Linked DNA regions of Homo sapiens: regions 1, 3 and 4 are each linked to region 2. Evidence: promoter capture Hi-C in 16 types of primary human blood cells and fetal thymus (Javierre and others, 2016). All regions are on one chromosome and are shown on one strand. The core of a region is centred on a gene start or on the middle of the fragment in contact, and the rest is flanking DNA. Distances in the headings are between cores, read along the strand shown.

Region 1 (4,781 bases), core at 2,051-4,550, 290 kb before region 2:
GAGCCAAGATTATGTCACTGCACTCCATCCTGGGTGACAAGAGCGAAACTCCATCTCAAAAAAAAAAAAAAAAAAAAGCCTGGCCTGGTGGTGGATGCCTGTGGTTCCAGCTATTCGGGAGGCTGAGGTAGGTGGATCACCTCTGCTCAGGTCAAGGCTGCAGCGAGCCATGATCGCACCATTGCACTCCAGCCTGAGTGACAGAGTGAGACCCTGTCTCAACAAGCAAGCAAACAAAAAACCAAAAGGAATGTTTTTTTCAGATACTGATAGAATGTTTTCAGTGTGTATTGGTTCATTTACTATATCTTTAGTGTAAGATTTTAAAAGGTTTTTTCAGCATCCATTCAACAAATATTTATTATCTTTATACAAATTATTCATTGTGTTAAACTTATTTTTAGTTTAACATTCTAGAAATGAAACGTTTTTACTTAACCTTATTCTACAAAGGGAATACAGCAGTTATTCTAATTTTAATAAATGCTAAAAGCTTTATACAATTTTTCTTTGTGCACTAAATGATTTTTGGCCCATACCCAGCAACTGTGATGAATGTATAATGAAATAACATCTTGAAAACAGGCCAGATACATTAAGTATTTATTGAGCTTCTGTCATATGCCCAGTATTATGCTTCTTCTATACTGTTTCTCTGTGACAAGTCATACTATATTCTTTATAGAATTAAAAGTAGAGGAGAGGCAGAGTTTACATATTGTCCAGTTGCTTTACAGTTGTACAGGAGGTTATAAGAAGAAATATAGTAAATTAGTGGGAAGTCAGAGGTGGGGGCGTTAGTGAGCTATTTTCTTCTTGAGGTTGTGACACAAGCTGACAAAAGCCAGGGAGTTCACAGCTGTGTGGTGGCACAAAGTTCCATATGTTCTAAAAACAATTAGGCCCAGCAGGGTGTCCCTAATGGCTTCCTTGTTAAACCTCCATGGCCAGCTGATCTGAAGCTCTGTGACATGTTCTCTGAGCTCTGAATGCTCTGGCTTTTTGTCATTTTGTCTTGAGACAAGTATTTTCCTGTAGTCCTCATTCCTTCGAGTTATTCCATCTCCCAGGATATTCTCTGGTGAGAAGAATGTCTTTCAGTGAATTTGCCTTGAATTTAGCATCCATAGAGCTGTGTCAGTGTTCTTCTTGATCACACCTTCTTTAAAAAAAATACTTGCTTGCGATGACTGGACAAGTTCAGTTGGTTAGTTTCAGGCCTATAAGAAGAGAGAGTAAAGGACCTTGCTATTTACTTTGATACCATAGTTGTATCTCAGGATGGCCTGCAAACCACTGGCCTTGTGTGTATTTAAGCTAGGAATAAAATAATGGAGAAGTGTTAATATGTATACAAAAAGGTAAATATTGATATATCTACTCTCTGTTGGGGGCAGAAGTGTCATTTTAAGTTATTCAAAGCACTTTCTTAAGCATTTTAGAAAGCCTTTATTCTTTGCTGTTGGAAGTCTCCGTACTTTGCAGAATTGGTATTTGTGTACTAGCCTCTGCCGCAGGATGGGGAGGTGGGCAGGTAGCTGATAGGGGCAGCCAGGAGTTTTTGAGGCAGGTGGTGGGAAATTGTCCTAATTTGTTAATTGGATTATGTAACTCTGTTACTAGTCTGTTATTGGCTGTTGTTACTGGATGCATCTTGATATTCAGAAGAATAACTGTGAGGCATTCTTCAGTTGCGGGTTAAGTGGGGTTAGTTTCTGTTCTGTCAGATGCCCTTTTTCAGTCAAAGGTTAGCCCCTTGTTTCTCCCTCCTTCCAGGGTTTAGGGAGTGCAGTGATGTCGATTTCATTTCCCTTCCCCGCACCCCTTGACACTCAGCAGGATTGCACTGAAACCCTTCACAGATCTCTCGTTCACTAGTTGTCTCCTATTTTTCCATAACTAGCACTAGTTTGGCCTTATGACCTGGTTAGAATCACTCTTCTGTATTCTCATTTCCAATTTTTGTGCCCCACTAACGTGGACTAGAGAAACTTGGCCTGCTGTGCAGTGGGCCTTCTGTTCAACTTACCCTCCACCGCTGACCCTGTGTGAAGAGAGATGGTGCGTTACTGCCATCTAATGGGAAAAGAGAAAACTGCAGTTGGGAAAAGCAGCTGTGCATTTAAGGGTAGGGCTTTCTGAAGGATTTCTGATACAGTCCAGAAAAGGGAAAATGATGACACAGCAGTTGCCATCTTGAAAAATGCCCTTTCCTGCGGAAAGGGTGTTTTGAAGTCTAATACAACTATCATCACAAGGTCCCTGGACTAAGGCTGGATCGTGTAATTTAGAATCTCAAATTGTATTTTAATTAATATGCTGGCAACAGAATCATTGAAACAGGCGTCTCATTTTGTCAAGTTCTTAGCCGTTCAGTTTGTCAGGGGCTTTAATATTTTAGATATCAACTAATACATAGTTTCAACTTTTAAAAATGTTTGAAGATTGTATGTAATATAGGTGTCTATCTATAGTGCCTTAGTAATTTAAATCAGAAATATTTTATAAAACTTCTGGTTGTTTTGCAGTAGCCAATATAGGCTTCATGCCCTCCTGAAGATAGTTTCCTCTGAAATGTAACTTTAAATAAACATTATTCCAAGAAAACTACAGTGGTTTTGCTTAATTCAGTTAGCTCTGAGAATCATCTTCCTTCAGAAAAATACTTCCCATGGTAAGAGCTACAGCAGAGTTTCATTTGCAGTCACCATTAATGAAATATAGAAACACCATGATGGAACATAACCAGCAGATTCTATCTTTTATTTACTCTGTTCACATTTAGAGTCCTTCTATTATGTTTTTCTTCCCAAGTAAAATAGTAATACAGTGATGTTTTACTGCCATTTCCTGGCCCATCTCTTCCTGAGTCGAAAGTTAGTGCACTGGTTCTCATCCCTCACTAGATAGAAGATTTGGGCTCTGCTTCTGTTTTTATCAGTTTGTTATTAATACAAATGTCCCATGCCATCTGTGGGATGCCCTAAGTCTGTTGCAAAGTTCAAAAACCTATTTTAAAAAAAAATTGTACCAGGTGATTTGGATACACAGCCAATGGTGGAGAAGCCCTGTTGGAAGCTCCTATTTGGAAATGCACAAATAAATTCACGTCAGGTCCTAGAAGGGCATACTGTTGAGTCTGCTATCAAAAAGTTTTCCCCTCCAAAATTCCTAACATGGTTTCAAGTTTTTAACTTCCATTAAACATTTATGTAAGTTGCCACCAGGTGGAACAAGTGCCTATTGTTTTAACCCATCTGTGTTTAAGAGAAGAGGAAGTTTGCATTAAGAAATGCTCCCGCCACCCACCACCCGAGCAATTAGAGTAATGGTTTTCAGAATTCAGATTGAACACGTGTTTACAAGCACCCAGGGTTTGAGTGTTGAATGTTGGATTCTGACCCTGTGAAAGGCCAAGATGTAAGTAGTGAGAATAGACTCTTTTTCCGCACCAGGTGTGCTGCTGAACAAATGCTTTTCATCATACAGCATCTCATTTAATCTGCCACAACTCAGCCAGGTGGGAACCTTGTTTTTCAGATAAAAACACGGGTGCTTAGAATGATGAAATAACTTGTCTTGGGTCAGTCATAGTAAGTGGTAGAGCCCAGATTGCGGCCCAGGTCTCACTCTAGAGTGTTTTTTTTTTTTTTTTTTTTGCACTTTTTATGATTTCATTTAAAAACAAAACATAGACTGAGTTGTCTGTTCATTTTCTTCGCTGCACAGCCTGGCCTTGGGAGTGGTGACTGATGGCCCACGGGGCTGCTCGCTCCACAGTGGCCTTGTGGTTCTGGAGGAAACATTGTGAGCAATCTCAGCTCAGTATAATTTGTTGCACATCAGCAGCGCTTCATTCCGGCTCCTTGACCTTGTAGACCAGGAACTTCTGGAAGCCACTGGGCAGGGTGTGCTTCATTATCTTGCTACTCCCATAACTGACGCTGGCAATACAGCAGAGTATCATTCAGCCTCAACAAGGAAGGGAATCCTGACACAGACCATTACGCTGAGTGAAACCCGTCAGTCACAAAAAGACAAATACTGTATGATTCCACTTACATGAGGTACCCAGAGTAGTCAAATTCATAGAAAGTAGAATGGTAGTTGCCAGGGGCTGGGGAAGGAGGAAATGGGGAGTTGTTTAATGAGTGCAGAGTTTTCTTTTCTTTTCTTTCTTTTTTTTTTTTTTTTTTTGAGACAGTGTCTTGCTCTGTCGCCCAGGCTGGAGTGCAGTGGTGCAATCTCAACTCACTGCAACCTCCACCTCCCAGGTTCCAGCAATTCTCCTGCCTCAGCCTCCCAAGTAGCTGGGACTACAGGCATGCGCCACAACACCCAGCTAATTTTTGTATTGTTAGTAGAAACGGGGTTTCACCATGTTGGCCAGGCTGGTCTCAAACTCCTGACCTCATGTGATCCACCAGCCTTGGCCTCCCAAAGTGCTGAGATTATAGGCATGACCCACCATTCCCAGCCCAGAGTTTCTGCATGAGATAATGAAAAGTCCTGGAGATTGGGTGCACAACAATATGAATGTAGTTAACACTGCTGAACTGCACACTTAGAAATGGTTAACATAGGCCAAGTGTAGTGGCTTATGCCTGTAATCCCAGGGCTTTGGGAGGCCAAAGTAGGCGGATCACTTGAGCGAAGGAGTTCGAGACCAGCCCGGGCAACGTGGTGAAACCCCATCTCTTATAAAAAAAATTAAAATAGGTGGTTAAGATGGTAAATTTTATGTTAATGCATTTCTTACCACACACACAAAAATGCCAGTC
Region 2 (4,711 bases), core at 2,179-4,678:
CTGGCTCCAGTATTGGCAGGTTGGCCCCCTACAGAGCCCATCTCTTCTGATCCTCTCTATCTATTCTGTCTGCTCTCATAACATCACCCCATCATACCCATTCAGCCCCTCTTCCCTCTGTGGCGAATGCTATAACCAGCTCCTCTGGCTCAGAGGGGCTCAGTCCTGTTTGAAATGGCTACATAGTAGATATTTCCAGGAGAGCTAAACGGCTTGTATCAAAGGCCATCTGATGTTTCTGCCTAGGTATGCCATACAAACTCTCCTTCCAAGACAGCTGCTTCTCCCCTGCATCCATATTCCCAGTCTGCCTCTCTGTTCCTCTAGTGCCCCAAACATTAAAGTCCTTTCATTCCTGCTAGTCTCTTTCCCAGCCTCTCTTCCTCCAGCTTCTGATTCTTGAATGTGGGTAAGCTTCTCAGAGAAGGGAACTAGAACTTGAGGGGTTAAGGGTAAGAAGGGAGAGCAAGAAAGTACAAATTACATACACATCCCCTTTAGGAGCCAAAAAGGAACAAAGACATAAGACAACATCACAGATGCCTACCTTGGGGCCTGTATATGCCGATTTGTTAGTCTTCCCCTGAAAGGCAAGAGCCACACAACAGGAATTGACTGGGGCTTGGGACAAGCTATTGATCTAGATCAAGGACACTGTGGAGTTGGTATATGCTGGGGTTTGGGGTGGGTGTCTGGAATGGGAACAAGGACACATGGAACAGGCCTAGGGGCTGAAGCAGAGTGTCCTCCTCCCACCCCCACACTTCCACTCAAGCCCCCCAGCCCCCAATGCAGCTATAACTTGGGCTCTTTTCTGCCACAGTGGAGAGAAGCATCTGCCTGCCACATGACATTCAACAGACCTGATTCTCTCCAAAAGAGAAATTTCCCATGTGGGAATCCGGCTGGATCCCTGTGAGGGAAGACCCTTGGAGAACGCAGCCTGGAGTTCTGGTAAAAAGCCCTAGAAGAGGAGAGGACTCCTGTGGACTGCAGGCTGCTTCCTGGCAGAAGTTTCCTCTCTTACCCTCAGTCTAAAGCCTTAGTTTCAATTCTGCCAGGCAAGGTGGGGAACTATAAGTCTTCTCTTCTGGAGCCCACGATGGAGCCTGCCAGGGAGACAAGTTATTCTTCTGTTCTGGACATCCAAGGGTGACTTTAAGGAGGATGCCTGGAGGACATGGGGAGAAGGTGAGAAGGGTTAAGCTGGCAGAAAGGGGAAGCCAAGCATCTGCAGCACTTAAGAGCAGGACGGTGCCAGGATGGTGCCTCCTGAACGGACCTCAGTAGTCTTGTGGGGGTGATCTGGGAAGGTTAGGAGTTCTGTTGGAAAGGTAAAGCAGGGTGTACAAGTCCTCTGCCCCCACCCCGGAAAGCCTCAGGGCAGCTGGAATGGCATTGAAGAGAGCAGGTGGCAATTTTGATGAGGAGCTGCTGACACGGCTGATCCTCTGGGCGCTGGGGCCGTGACATCAGGGTGAGAAGCTCTGTGTGGGAGCTCTAGGGAACGATAGTTGCCCGGATGTGGAGCCCTGCCAGGTATTCTTCCTGGTTTAGGCCAACGTGATCCAGCAAAGGCCAGGAGCTTGTAGAGGAGGAGCTGAGGCAGGGATGACACGTAGGACAATAAGCAAGAGCTGGCTGTCTTGGGAGGTGAAGAGCAGGAGCCAGTACCCTTCCTCAAGGAGATGGCTCTCCACCTAGACATGATTGGTGCCTGGTGTCTGCTCTATTCTTTCTTTGCAACTGGAAGGAAGGCAGATGACCCCCAAAGCTCTCCTGCCTGCTTCTGTGTGATATGTTTGATATTGGGTTGTTTAATTAGGAACCAACTAAATGTCAAACATATTCTTACAGCAGCAGGTGATTCAGCACCACCCTCTTTCATACTTCAATCTCTGGGGCTCCTGTCTCTTTTACTGAACCTCTTCTCTCCAGGACCCCCCCAAAAGTCCAGTAGCTGCAACCTATGTGCATTTCAATCTTAACCTAAGAGGGCTGGTGTGGGAATGGGAGAGAGTTGGAATTTGAGGATAGAATCTTTCTATTTCTTGTCCCCTTATACTAGAAGGGACATTTCTTTGCCTTTTCTTGTCCTCGTATTTTTCTCCCCCTTATTCACTTGCCCACCCCCCCCCCATTTTCCACTCCTTCCTCTCCCTGTTCCCTAACCCCTTTCCCTGGCTAATCTCCAGAGAAAGGAGACTTGGTTTCTCCTCTCTCTGTCGAGAGTCAGCTGATGGTCTATCTGCCTATCTACCTCTAGTGACTGGAAGCTCTCAATAGTGGACTCCAGCTCTGCTCTACCCACTGGCCTGGTGGGTGTCTCCGTTCCCCCATTGCTGGGGCTTAGCATTAACTCTCAGTATCCTGACATAAATGACTAACTAGAGCCATTTATATTTGTCCAATATATCTGGTCACCTTGAACAGTGCCCACCTCTCCCTTGGCATATTTTCAGGTGTATGGTGCCAGTGGACTGGTATCCTTGCCACCTGTTAGTAACAAGGCTCCCAATGGAAGAATAAACATGGTCTGGAACTAAACTGGAAAGAATAGAGCTGATAATGATGATTACGATGATGTGGTGAGTGGCAGCGTTGGGGAGAATTAAGAAGGGAGAAGATAAAGGGAAGAAGAGGAGAGAGCCACACAGACCAAAGTCTGTGTGGGTACAACAGTTCTATTTTAAGATTACTGTGGGAAAACAAAGGGTATGATCCTGTCTGGATTGTTCTGACCCTCCCCTGTTTCTCTCCCCACCCCACTTGAAGCTCTGGGATAGCCTTCAAGGATAGGGTTGGAGATTCCAACCCTACCTCTTACTCTACTCTTGTGGCTCTTGGTGGGGAGGAAAAACGTCTCCCTGCCAATCGGAGACTCCCAGAATAGCACAGCAATTTGATCTGGGGATCTGGGAGAATTGTTAAGGATCATGAGTGACCTCCCCTCTTCCCTGTGCCCAAGCTCCTTGAATACCAGGAATCAAAAGCTAAAACTCAACTAACGGAGTTTGACCAGCATTCAACACAGTCTGGGGGAGAGTGAAACGGGAAGCTGAAAGGCAACCAGGACCCCCTGGATGCAAACTGCCAACCTAGAATTGCCAAAGTACACTTCTCTATTTCAATGTTCTTCCCTCCCCTCTTCCTCTTCTTTTAAAACATCCATAGAGCTGCCCAGAATGAGTGGAAAGTTTCAGGGTCAGGGAGAACCTCTTCCCTCCCCCACTTTCCATTGTCTAAAATCAGCCTCAGCTGTTGCTAGATATTTTTTTTGCTGGTGATGTCAGTTCATCAAAGCGTCTCACCCTGTGTTCCCCCAGGAGAACAATGATGGGGTGGAGGGAGCTGGAAAGACCATATTAGGAACAAAAGGTGGAGCTATGAGCACAGATAAAGACTCAAGTCTGGGGACCTCCTGGTCACTCAGGCAGCAGCCCCTTCTTTCTTGCCCCAGTCTCCAGTTCTCCAGTGTTCACAGGTGAGCCTACCAACAGCCACTGCTCATGATGGAGGCCATCAAGAAAAAGATGCAGATGCTGAAGTTAGACAAGGAGAATGCTCTGGATCGGGCAGAGCAAGCTGAAGCTGAGCAGAAGCAGGCAGAAGAAAGAAGTAAACAGGTAGGCACTGGCATTGATCTCTCTCATCTGCTAGTGAACAAGACTGTGAAATGGAAGGGAGTTTTCATGGGAAAGACAGTGACTACTGGTGTCACCTCCTTTTTGGGGGTGGGATGGACTCCCCAGCCTCACTGGAGGAGCAGAGGATATCTAACATATCTGTCTCAGACTGCCTTTGTGACCTTGGGAAAGTCAGTGAGCCACAGTATGTCTGCTGAATTTAAGTAGAAATGGACCATGTTTTGGAAGAACCCTTGACTTCTAGAGGAAAAGGTAAGAGTTCTAGAGGGAAAGAGCATCTCTTTTCACTCAAATAGCATCACGGGCATCTACACTTTAGATATTTATCATCCAGGGGTCTTGGATGAAAACCCAGGATGGCTTGGTCATCTTAGGATCAGAGATTACAGGGTCACAGGCCAAGCTACGGCATAACTCCTGAGGCAGTGGGCTGGAAGTGGCTGGGGAGAAAGTGTGTCTCACTAGGGATGGTAACATGGAGGTTACACTCAGGGCTCCAAGAGCCCAGGGTCCAACCCTGCATTGTTGTGTTTGTGTGTTTTTGTGTGTGACTCTCTGGGCTCCTATAGCTGGAGGATGAGCTGGCAGCCATGCAGAAGAAGCTGAAAGGGACAGAGGATGAGCTGGACAAGTATTCTGAAGCTTTGAAGGATGCCCAGGAGAAGCTGGAACTGGCAGAGAAGAAGGCTGCTGATGTGAGTATTAGAGAGATGGAGGATGGGTTTAATCTACACATATAGATCTTTATGTTAATGTATGACGAAATTCCAAACACACTTGTGGGTTCATGGAACACAGACATATATACTCACATACATTTTTGCATATAACCACATGCTGGTATATTCTCATAATGGCATGTATTTTCTTTCTTAAAGACATCTCCAACATGTTAAAAGTTTTTTTTTAATACATGTAAAGGTCTCATTTATCTCCTATCACCAACCCAGGAATTTAATTATCTTTCCCAGGACCTGGACAAAGAGAGGGGACTCTAAGTTCAGAATGCTGTCACTTATCCTACCTCCTCCCCCATGCCACATTCTTAGCTTTTATGTCCAAGT
Region 3 (4,309 bases), core at 546-3,045, 340 kb before region 2:
CTCTTGGATCTGGGTTGGATACCAGATCCCGTCTTGTTTTGGCTTACTGATTCATTTTTGTTGGAACACACTCCTTCATAGCTTTCTGAGAACAGGTACATGGGGCACACATTTTTTGAGACCCTATCTTTCTGAGCAAGTCTTTTTCAACCTTTTTTTAAAAGTGACAGTGTCTTACTTTGTTACCCAGGCTGGAGTGCTGGCACAATCATAGCTCACTGCAACCTCAAACTCCTTCAGGTCAAGTGATCCTCCCATCTCAGCCTCACCAGTAGCTGGGACTACATGTGTGTGCCACCACACCCGGCACATTTTTTGTCGACAGGGTTGCCCAGGATGTTCTCAAACTCCTGGCCTGAAGCAATCCTCCCACCTCAGCTTCCCAAATCCCAAATTCCAAAGCACTGGGATTACAGGTACACACCACTGCAGATGGCTTACCCTTATATTCTCTCTCTCTTTTTTTTTTTTTCTTGAGATGGAGTCTCACTCTGATGCCCAGGCTGGAGTGCAGTGGCATGATCTCAGCTCACTGCAACCTCTGCCTCCCAGGTTCCAGGGATTCTCCTGCCTCAGCCTCCCGAGTAGCTGGAATTACAGGTGTGCACCACCACGCTTGGCTAATTTTTGTATTTTTAATAGAGATGGAGTTTCACCATGTTAGCCAGGCTGGTCTCAAACTCCTGACTTCAAGTGATCCGCCCACCTCGGCCTCCCAAAGTGCTACCCTTATTCTTGACTGACTTGTTTGGGCTTGGATATTATTTTCCTGAAGAATTCAATCACACCACCTGATTCCATATCCTTCAATGTGGATTCTCTTCCTAAAGCTTTATCCCTAGTATTCTAAAATACTTCTGTAAAGTGCCTTCATGTAGGTTTTTATTTTCCCATTCATTATCCTGGGCACTCATTGGCTGCTTTGTATCTGAAAACTCACATCCTTCACCCATGGGAAATTATCTTATATCATTTGATAATCTCTCCCCCACGCTGACCTGAACACTGCCTGGATGCGTGTTGTGCCACGTAAGCTTATCTTCTAATTTTACCTTTTCTTTTCTTTAAAACAATTTCACTACAAAATATTTCAATCAACAAATCCTCTCCCCAAAAAGCAATAACAAATCTTGACAAATTGTCAAAAACAATCACTTCAGGACTCTGGAAATTGACTGAAGCATACAAGAAATTGAAAACATCTATTAAAAAGAAAACAATAACAACAACGACTGACCTTTGTACGAAAACAGTGAGCATCTGGGGCTTCCCCACTCCCCACTCCTTCAGCGGATAGTTCTACCAGGATGGGCAAAGCCATGGAAACCAGGAGCATCAAAGGTGGCTGACTTGATCGGAGCAGGCTATGGAAAACCACCAGGTGTTGTCAGAAACTGCCACCTCGTGGTAAGCAACGGGAAAGTTGCAGCCTGGCTTTTATGCATCTTCACCTACAAAAGGTGCCTATTCCTAGCTCTTGCCCATTTTTCTATTAGGTTGTTTCTTTCTTGCATTGATTTCCAGGCATTTTCATCCTGTTTATTTTTGTTTTTTAAAAAATAGCCTAGATCTTAACCCAGGAACTGGCAAACTTTTTCTGCAAAGGGCCAGATAGTAAATATTTTAGATTTTGGGGGCCTTACTGTCTGTCATGAGTCCACTCTGCTGCTGTAGTGAGGAAGCAGCCACAGGCAATCTGTAAACAAATGGCTGAGGCTGCATGCCAGGAATGTTTCATGGACACAAACTGAATTTCATACAATTTTCATGTGTCATGAAATATTCTTCATTTTTTTTCCCATTTAAAAATACGGCTGGGGGGTCTCACGCCTATAATCCCAGCAGTTTGGGAAGTGGAGACACGAGGATTGCTTGCCAGGAGTTCAAGACCAGCTTGGGCAACATAGTGGGACCCCATCTCTACAAACAATAGAAAATTAAAAAAAAATATATATATATATATATATGGCTGGGCACAGTGGCTGCCCTGCAATCCCAGCACTTTGGGAGGCTAAAGCAGGAGGATTGCTTGAGGCCAAATCAGCTGGGCATGGTGGTACACGCCTGTAGTCCCAGCTACTCACGAGGCTGAGGCAGGACTGCTTGAGCCCAGGAGTTCGAGGCTGCAGTAAGTTCAGATCACACCACTGCACTCCAGTCTGGGCAACAGAGCAAGACCCTGCTCTAAAAATATAAATAAATAAAAACCATTCTTAGAACCTCCACTCTGAGAAGATGAAATATACATACTTCATCTTAGTTTTGTTAAACACAACTAAGAGCCCAGGACATTACATGTAAAACAAACATAAGAAGACTCTGAAAGATGGAGAGAAGGGAACAGGCTGACCAGAGACCTTGGAACCCAGGGTACAACGTGGTGATGACTTCTCTGGGTTTTCCTTTTGCTTTATATATTCCAAACTTAGAATTGAAGAGGCCAGCAACCCAGAAACACCAGTAGGTCCAGAAAAAAAAAAAAAAAAAACCCAACAAAAGCCTGCTCTTTCTAGCCAAAGCACCAGAAGAGACAGGCTAGGAAGACAGAAAGCTTGTAGATAATAACTCCTTTACTCCAGCTAAATGCCACCAACAAGGAGATCCCACCTCCACGCATGCCAACAAAGACAGCATGCAGGGCCCAGACTTCTGCCCTCATGGGGCTGGGATGAGTCGCCCAATACCCCCACCCTGATGGTGTCACAAAGGGCCAAGCAGGCAGCCAGGAATTTCATCCCCTACCCAATAAAGAAACCGGTCTCTCCCTACCACCACCCTGCCTGGGTGTCAATAGAAACCACTTGGGAATCCTGGACTTCCATACCCACCTCACAGAGAGAAAGCCCCCCTCTCTCTCCCTACTGGGGGGGGTGTCAGAAGTGTAGTGGAGAGTCAAGACTTTCCTCAGCGGTAATGAAGCCATCCACGCCAAGATGTCAGTGGAGACCACAAACTAGAACTGGCAGTAACAAGGGGCTCGCTGCCGCCTTAGAGGCTGAGTAGGGAGCCTGACTTCCATCCTCACCTGGCAGCAGCGAGGCAGTACCGTGTTCCCCTGTGGGAGCAGCATCAGAGGAAGCCAGTTAAAACACAAGGTGTATACAAAATCTAGTCTAGCAACGTAACAAGAAAATGTCCAAGTTTCCAGTGAAACTCACTCATCATACCAAGAACCAGGAAAATTTCACATGGAATGAAAAAAATGAGAGGCGACAGCGTGCTGGCAGCCCTCGCAGCCCTCGCTCGCTCTCGGTGCCTCCTCAGCCTCGGCGCCCATTCTGGCCGCGCTTGAGGAGCCCTTCAGCCCGCCGCTGCACCGTGGGAGCCCTTCTCTGGGCTGGCCGAGGCCAGAGCTGGCTCCCTCGGCTTGCAGGCAGGTGTGGAGGGAGAAGCACAGGTGGGAACCAGGGCTGCGCGCGGTGCTTGCAGGACAGCTAGAGTTCTGGGTGGGCGTGGGCTTTGCGGGCCGCACTCAGAGCGGCCCCGGGCAGTGAGGGGCTTAGCACCCAGGCCAGCAGCTGCGGAGGGTGCACCAGGTCCCGCAGCAGTGCTGGCCCACTGGTGCTGCGCTTGATTTCTCACCAGGCCTTAGCTGCCTCCCCGCAGGGCAGGGCTTGGGACCTGCAGCCCGCCATGCCTGAGTCTCCCCACCACCCCGCCATGGGCTCCTGCGCTGCCTGAGCCTCCCCGATGAGCAACGCCCCCTGCTCCACAGCACCTGGTCCTATCAACCACCCAAGGGCTGAGGAGTGTGGGCGCACAGCACCCGCCTGGCAGGCAGCTCCACCTGTGGCCCCGGTGCGAGATCCACTGGGTGAAGCCAGCTGGGTTCCTGAGTCTAGTGGGTACTTGGAGAACCTTTATGACTAGCTAAGGGATTGTAAATACACCAATCAGCGCTCTGTGTCTAGCTCAGGGTTTGTGAATACACCAATCGACACTCTGTATCTAGCTAATCTAGTGGTGAGGTGGAGAACTTGTGTGTCTAGCTCAGGGATTGTAAACGCACCAATCAGCACCCTGTCAAAACAGACCAATCAGCTCTCTGTAAAATGGACCAATCAGCAGGATGTGGGTGGGGCCAGATAAGGGAATAAAAGCAGGCTGCCCGAGCCAGCAGTGGCAACCCACTCGGGTCCCCTTACGCACTGTGGAAGCTTTGTTCTTTCGCTCTTTGCAATAAATCTTGGTGCTGCTCACTCTTCGGGTCCACACTGCCTTTATGAGCTGTAACACTCACCCCGAAGGTCTGAAGCTTCACTCCTGAAGCCAGCGAGACCGCGAACCCACTGGGAGGAATGAACAACTC
Region 4 (4,101 bases), core at 1,253-3,752, 370 kb after region 2:
CTCTTCAGTACCTACTCTTGACAGGATAGACTATTCTTTTTTTTTTTTTTTTTTGAGACGGGAACCTCGCTCTGTTGCCCAGGCTGGAGTGCAGTGGTGCAATCTTGGCTCACTGCAACCTCTGCCTCCCAGGTTCAAGAGATTCTCCTGCCTCAGCTTCCTGAGTAGCTGGGACTACAGGTGCGCGCCGCCATGCGCAGCTAATTTTTTATTTTTAGTAGAGACGGGGTTTCACCATGTCGGTCAGGCTGGTCTCGAACTCCTGACCCCAGGTGTTCCACCCGCCTCGGTCTCCCAAAGTGCTAGGATTACAGGAGTGAGCCACCGCACCCGGCCCCCCTTGGATTTTTTTAATTCAGCATAGAAGTTTTCTTAACTTTTGTTGGAAATAGCTTATTTTTTCCCTTTCTTGTCTAGTGAGCCAGAGCGAGGAAGGCTAACTCCCTCACCAGACATCATTGTTTTGTCTGACAATGAGGCTTCCAGTCCCCGTTCCAGTTCCAGAATGGAAGAAAGACTCAAAGCAGCCAACTTAGAGATGTTTAAGGTAAAAAGAAAGAAAAATTTCTTTCTTCTTGTTATGCTCCTTCTATTTTATTTAATTCCTCAAGAGATTTAGTTCTGTTTTTTGACTATTTACTCTTTGGATATAAATACCCATTGATGAAAACTTTATAGTAACTCTTGACTTCAAGGGCTTTCAAAAGGAACTATTAGAAGCAAGTGGAGACGACAGTTTGAAAAGCATATATGTAGGCCATTATACTCAGTGTTATTTATCTTTGGAAAATGAAAACAAAAGTTCATAATTAAGTCATATAAAGTAAACTCTTGGCTGTAAGGATACTTTCTGCACTCTAACCTAAGTAACTGAATATGAAGGGATTCCTAAGTTTTTATGTATATCTAGAGGAAATGTGGCTTTAAGAGATTTAGGAACATTATTTTAAAAGAAGACAATGTTTCTCTTTAGTCATTCTTCTTTTTGCCAGGAATCTGGCTGATTAGCATTTATACGTGGTCTGTCCTTTAATTCTGTAAGCATTTCTTTGAGTACCTACTGAATGCCAGGCACTGTGCCAGACTCCAGTGATACAAAGATAATCCTATTGCCACTTCTGCTTCTTGTGGAAGATGAAGGTTTCAGAGCTAAGAAGTAAAGATTGTCTCTTGCAGGAAGGAATTCTGGGTACCTTGCTGCCATAGCTGAAAGTCTTCTTGTTTCCTTAGGGGAAAGGCATTGAGGAGCGGCAGCAGCTTATCAAGCAGCTGAGGGATGAGCTACGATTGGAAGAAGCCCGACTGGTCCTGTTAAAGAAACTGAGACAGAGTCAGCTACAGAAAGAGAATGTGGTCCAGAAGGTAATGTGCCCTAGAAATAAGGGACTAAGGGAAAGGAAAGAAAAACTGGTTTGAGAGTAGGTTCCCCCAGGTAGGTTCAGTTGGGTGGCTCATTTCTTCTCTGGGTCCGTAGTTTTTTAGTCTGTAGTAGTAGTGATTTTTTTTTTAATCTTAGGCCTTAAGAAAACCTTGACTCCCAGCCAGGTGCGGTGGCTCACGCCTGTAACTCCAGCACTTTGGGAGGCCGAGGCGGGTGGATCACGAGGTCAGGAGATCGAGAGCATCCTGGCTAACATGGTGAAACCCCATCTCTACTAAAAATACAAAAAATTAGCCGGTCATGGTGGCGGGCGCCTGTAGTCCCAGCTACTCGGGAGGCTGAGGCAGGAGAATGGCGTGAACCCGGGAGGTGGAGCTTGCAGTGAGCCGAGATCAGGCCACTGCACTCCAGCCTGGGCGACAGAGCAAGACTCTGTCTCAAAAAAAAAAAAAAAAAAGAAAACCTTGACTCCCTTTTTCTGGTTTTTCCTCCTGATTGACAAGAACCTCACACTGACCAGGAATTTTTAAAGTCTAGAAATGTACCAAATTTCCACCTGTGATTATTGGCCACAGTCTTATTTTCTCTTCCCTCTCCCAGACTCCAGTTGTACAGAATGCAGCATCTATTGTTCAGCCATCTCCTGCCCATGTGGGACAGCAGGGCCTATCTAAGCTTCCCTCTCGGCCTGGGGCCCAAGGGGTTGAACCTCAAAATTTGAGAACATTACAGGTATGTGACCCATAGTGGGATCTTAGTGTTGGAGGGCCGTGTCTAATCCTGTCTCTGTTTTTGGGCTTTTGTGAAGATTATAGAAGAACCTGGCCATGATAGAGGTGTTATTACTACTGATTGTTCTGTTGGCCCATTATGGCATGATTTAGTCTTCAGTAGAAGGATGAGTAACTTTCATGTTTCCACTGTAGTTTTTCTTGTCTAGAGAATGCTTCCAGCTTCTCTAGAGAAGGGGTAGATAGTTTTCTATCTAACCCTATAGGATTAGATAGTTTATACCAAAAAAAGCCAAGGACTTCCCAGCCACTAATCAGGGTTTACAATGATGGTAGATTTATCCCATAGACCATTAAATGAAATTACCAAGTCTGGCTGTGTTCCTGTGTTTCTACTTAGCTATGTATTATAGGCAGTGTTTTCCCTTTTGCATTTTGTGCTGTATTATACACAGCGTACAACCTGTGATTAGTTCTTTTCCTCTTCTTCCCCTCCAGGGTCACAGTGTCATCCGTTCAGCTACCAATACCACCCTTCCACACATGTTGATGTCTCAACGTGTTATTGCACCAAACCCAGCCCAGCTACAGGGTCAGCGGGGCCCGCCTAAGCCTGGCCTTGTACGCACCACAACACCCAACATGAATCCCGCCATCAATTATCAACCGGTAAGAGAGAGCTGAGCCCTAATGTGGAAACAGAGAAATCCCTTTGTTTGCTTTGCTTGTCGAAAGGGCCATAGGTTTTAAGTTTTTATACATAGATAAACTCTAGGACAAAAATGGTTATTTTGGTAGGGATTTAATTGAGAGCAGTCCCAAAAGTAGAAGCTTTGAGGAATTATATTAAAATAGTAGTGGAGGAGAGAGGTTATACAGCAGAGCAGCAGTAAGCTAAAAATCTGCCTAGAAGAGAGTGATCTAGGGAATAAGAAGCACAAGGATGTGTGACAGAAAGCAAAATCTTATTTCTGTCTCTTTTTTGTTTGTTTGTTTGTTTGTTTTTTGAGCTGGAATCTCACTGTGTTGCCCAGGCTAGAGTGCAGTGGCATGATCTTGGCTCACTGCAACCTCTGCCTCCTGGGTTCAAGGAATTTCCAGCTAATTTTGTGTATTTTTCGTAGAGACAGAGTTTGACCATGTTGGCCAGGCTGGTCTCAAACTCCTCACCTCAAGTGATCTGCCTACCTCGGCCTCCCAAAGTGCTGAGATTATAGGCGTGAGCCACCACGCGTGGCCTTTATTTCTCTCTTAGCAATGTTAGCTCATGGTCATCATCATTCTCCTTTCCTATGTGTCAGAGTTCTTTTTCAATAAATAAGTTGACCACCTCCTATTTTTGGAGAAGCTAAGTAGTCCAAACCAGGATCAGACAGTGTCCTCTGCCAAGAACGTAAGAATTGGCCCTTTCTCCTGCATACCATGATTGACCGCATTCTCAATCTATTTCAGCAGTCAAGTTCTTCTGTTCCATGTCAGCGTACAACATCCTCTGCCATCTATATGAACCTTGCTTCTCATATCCAGCCAGGGACGGTGAACAGAGTGTCCTCGCCACTTCCTAGCCCCAGCGCCATGACTGATGCTGCCAACTCACAGGCTGCAGCCAAATTGGCTCTTCGCAAACAGCTGGAAAAGACACTCCTGGAGATCCCACCCCCTAAACCTCCTGCTCCCTTACTTCATTTCTTGCCTAGTGCAGCCAATAGCGAGTTCATCTACATGGTAGGCTTGGAAGAAGTCGTACAGAGTGTCATTGACAGCCAAGGTAAGGCTGTTTCTTCTAATCAATCTATTTAAGCAAGTGGTTGCCAAGCCTGATTGACATAGGCAGAGTATCAGAGGGTACTGTACAATATTAAATAACTTCTCCTTCCTGTTACCAAACCACCTCCCTCCCTTCTTTACAGCTGTTTGGGAGCAACATGTTAGAAGCGGAGTGTGTGTGTGTGTGTGTGTGTGTGTGTGTGTGTGTGTGTGTTTTGTTTG

What was found. Contacts are between HindIII fragments. The CHiCAGO score rates a contact against its expected background, and 5 or more counts as called.
Region 1: a contact is called between a fragment that was not itself captured here and the fragment with the promoter of TPM3 in region 2, in 1 of 17 cell types (M2 macrophages). The highest score is 8.9, in M2 macrophages.
Region 3: a contact is called between a fragment that was not itself captured here and the fragment with the promoter of TPM3 in region 2, in 5 of 17 cell types (M2 macrophages, endothelial precursors, M1 macrophages and 2 more). The highest score is 8.8, in M2 macrophages.
Region 4: a contact is called between a fragment that was not itself captured here and the fragment with the promoter of TPM3 in region 2, in 2 of 17 cell types (naive CD8 T cells and naive CD4 T cells). The highest score is 6.2, in naive CD8 T cells.

The regions. Positions count from the first base shown.
Region 1 is chr1:154,477,307-154,482,087 of GRCh38, reverse strand. It overlaps SHE (Src homology 2 domain containing E), which reads left to right. Exons shown (of 6, transcript NM_001010846.3): 6 at 1-2,607. Among named protein-coding and RNA genes, the nearest start is that of TDRD10, 23 kb to the left of the region's middle. The HindIII fragment of the contact is 5,610 bases long and covers 496-4,781 here.
Region 2 is chr1:154,190,817-154,195,527 of GRCh38, reverse strand. It overlaps TPM3 (tropomyosin 3), which reads left to right and starts at 3,428. Exons shown (of 10, transcript NM_152263.4): 1 at 3,428-3,626; 2 at 4,217-4,342. The coding sequence starts at 3,510. MIR190B (microRNA 190b) reads left to right here and starts at 1,785; the gene lies at 1,785-1,863. The HindIII fragment of the contact is 3,875 bases long and covers 417-4,291 here.
Region 3 is chr1:154,531,533-154,535,841 of GRCh38, reverse strand. The region is part of intron 6 of TDRD10 (tudor domain containing 10); the gene reads right to left. Among named protein-coding and RNA genes, the nearest start is that of UBE2Q1-AS1, 20 kb to the left of the region's middle. The HindIII fragment of the contact is 1,517 bases long and covers 1,037-2,553 here.
Region 4 is chr1:153,816,052-153,820,152 of GRCh38, reverse strand. It overlaps GATAD2B (GATA zinc finger domain containing 2B), which reads left to right. Exons shown (of 11, transcript NM_020699.4): 3 at 418-547; 4 at 1,231-1,362; 5 at 1,982-2,113; 6 at 2,611-2,781; 7 at 3,565-3,880. Among named protein-coding and RNA genes, the nearest start is that of SLC27A3, 43 kb to the right of the region's middle. The HindIII fragment of the contact is 887 bases long and covers 2,059-2,945 here.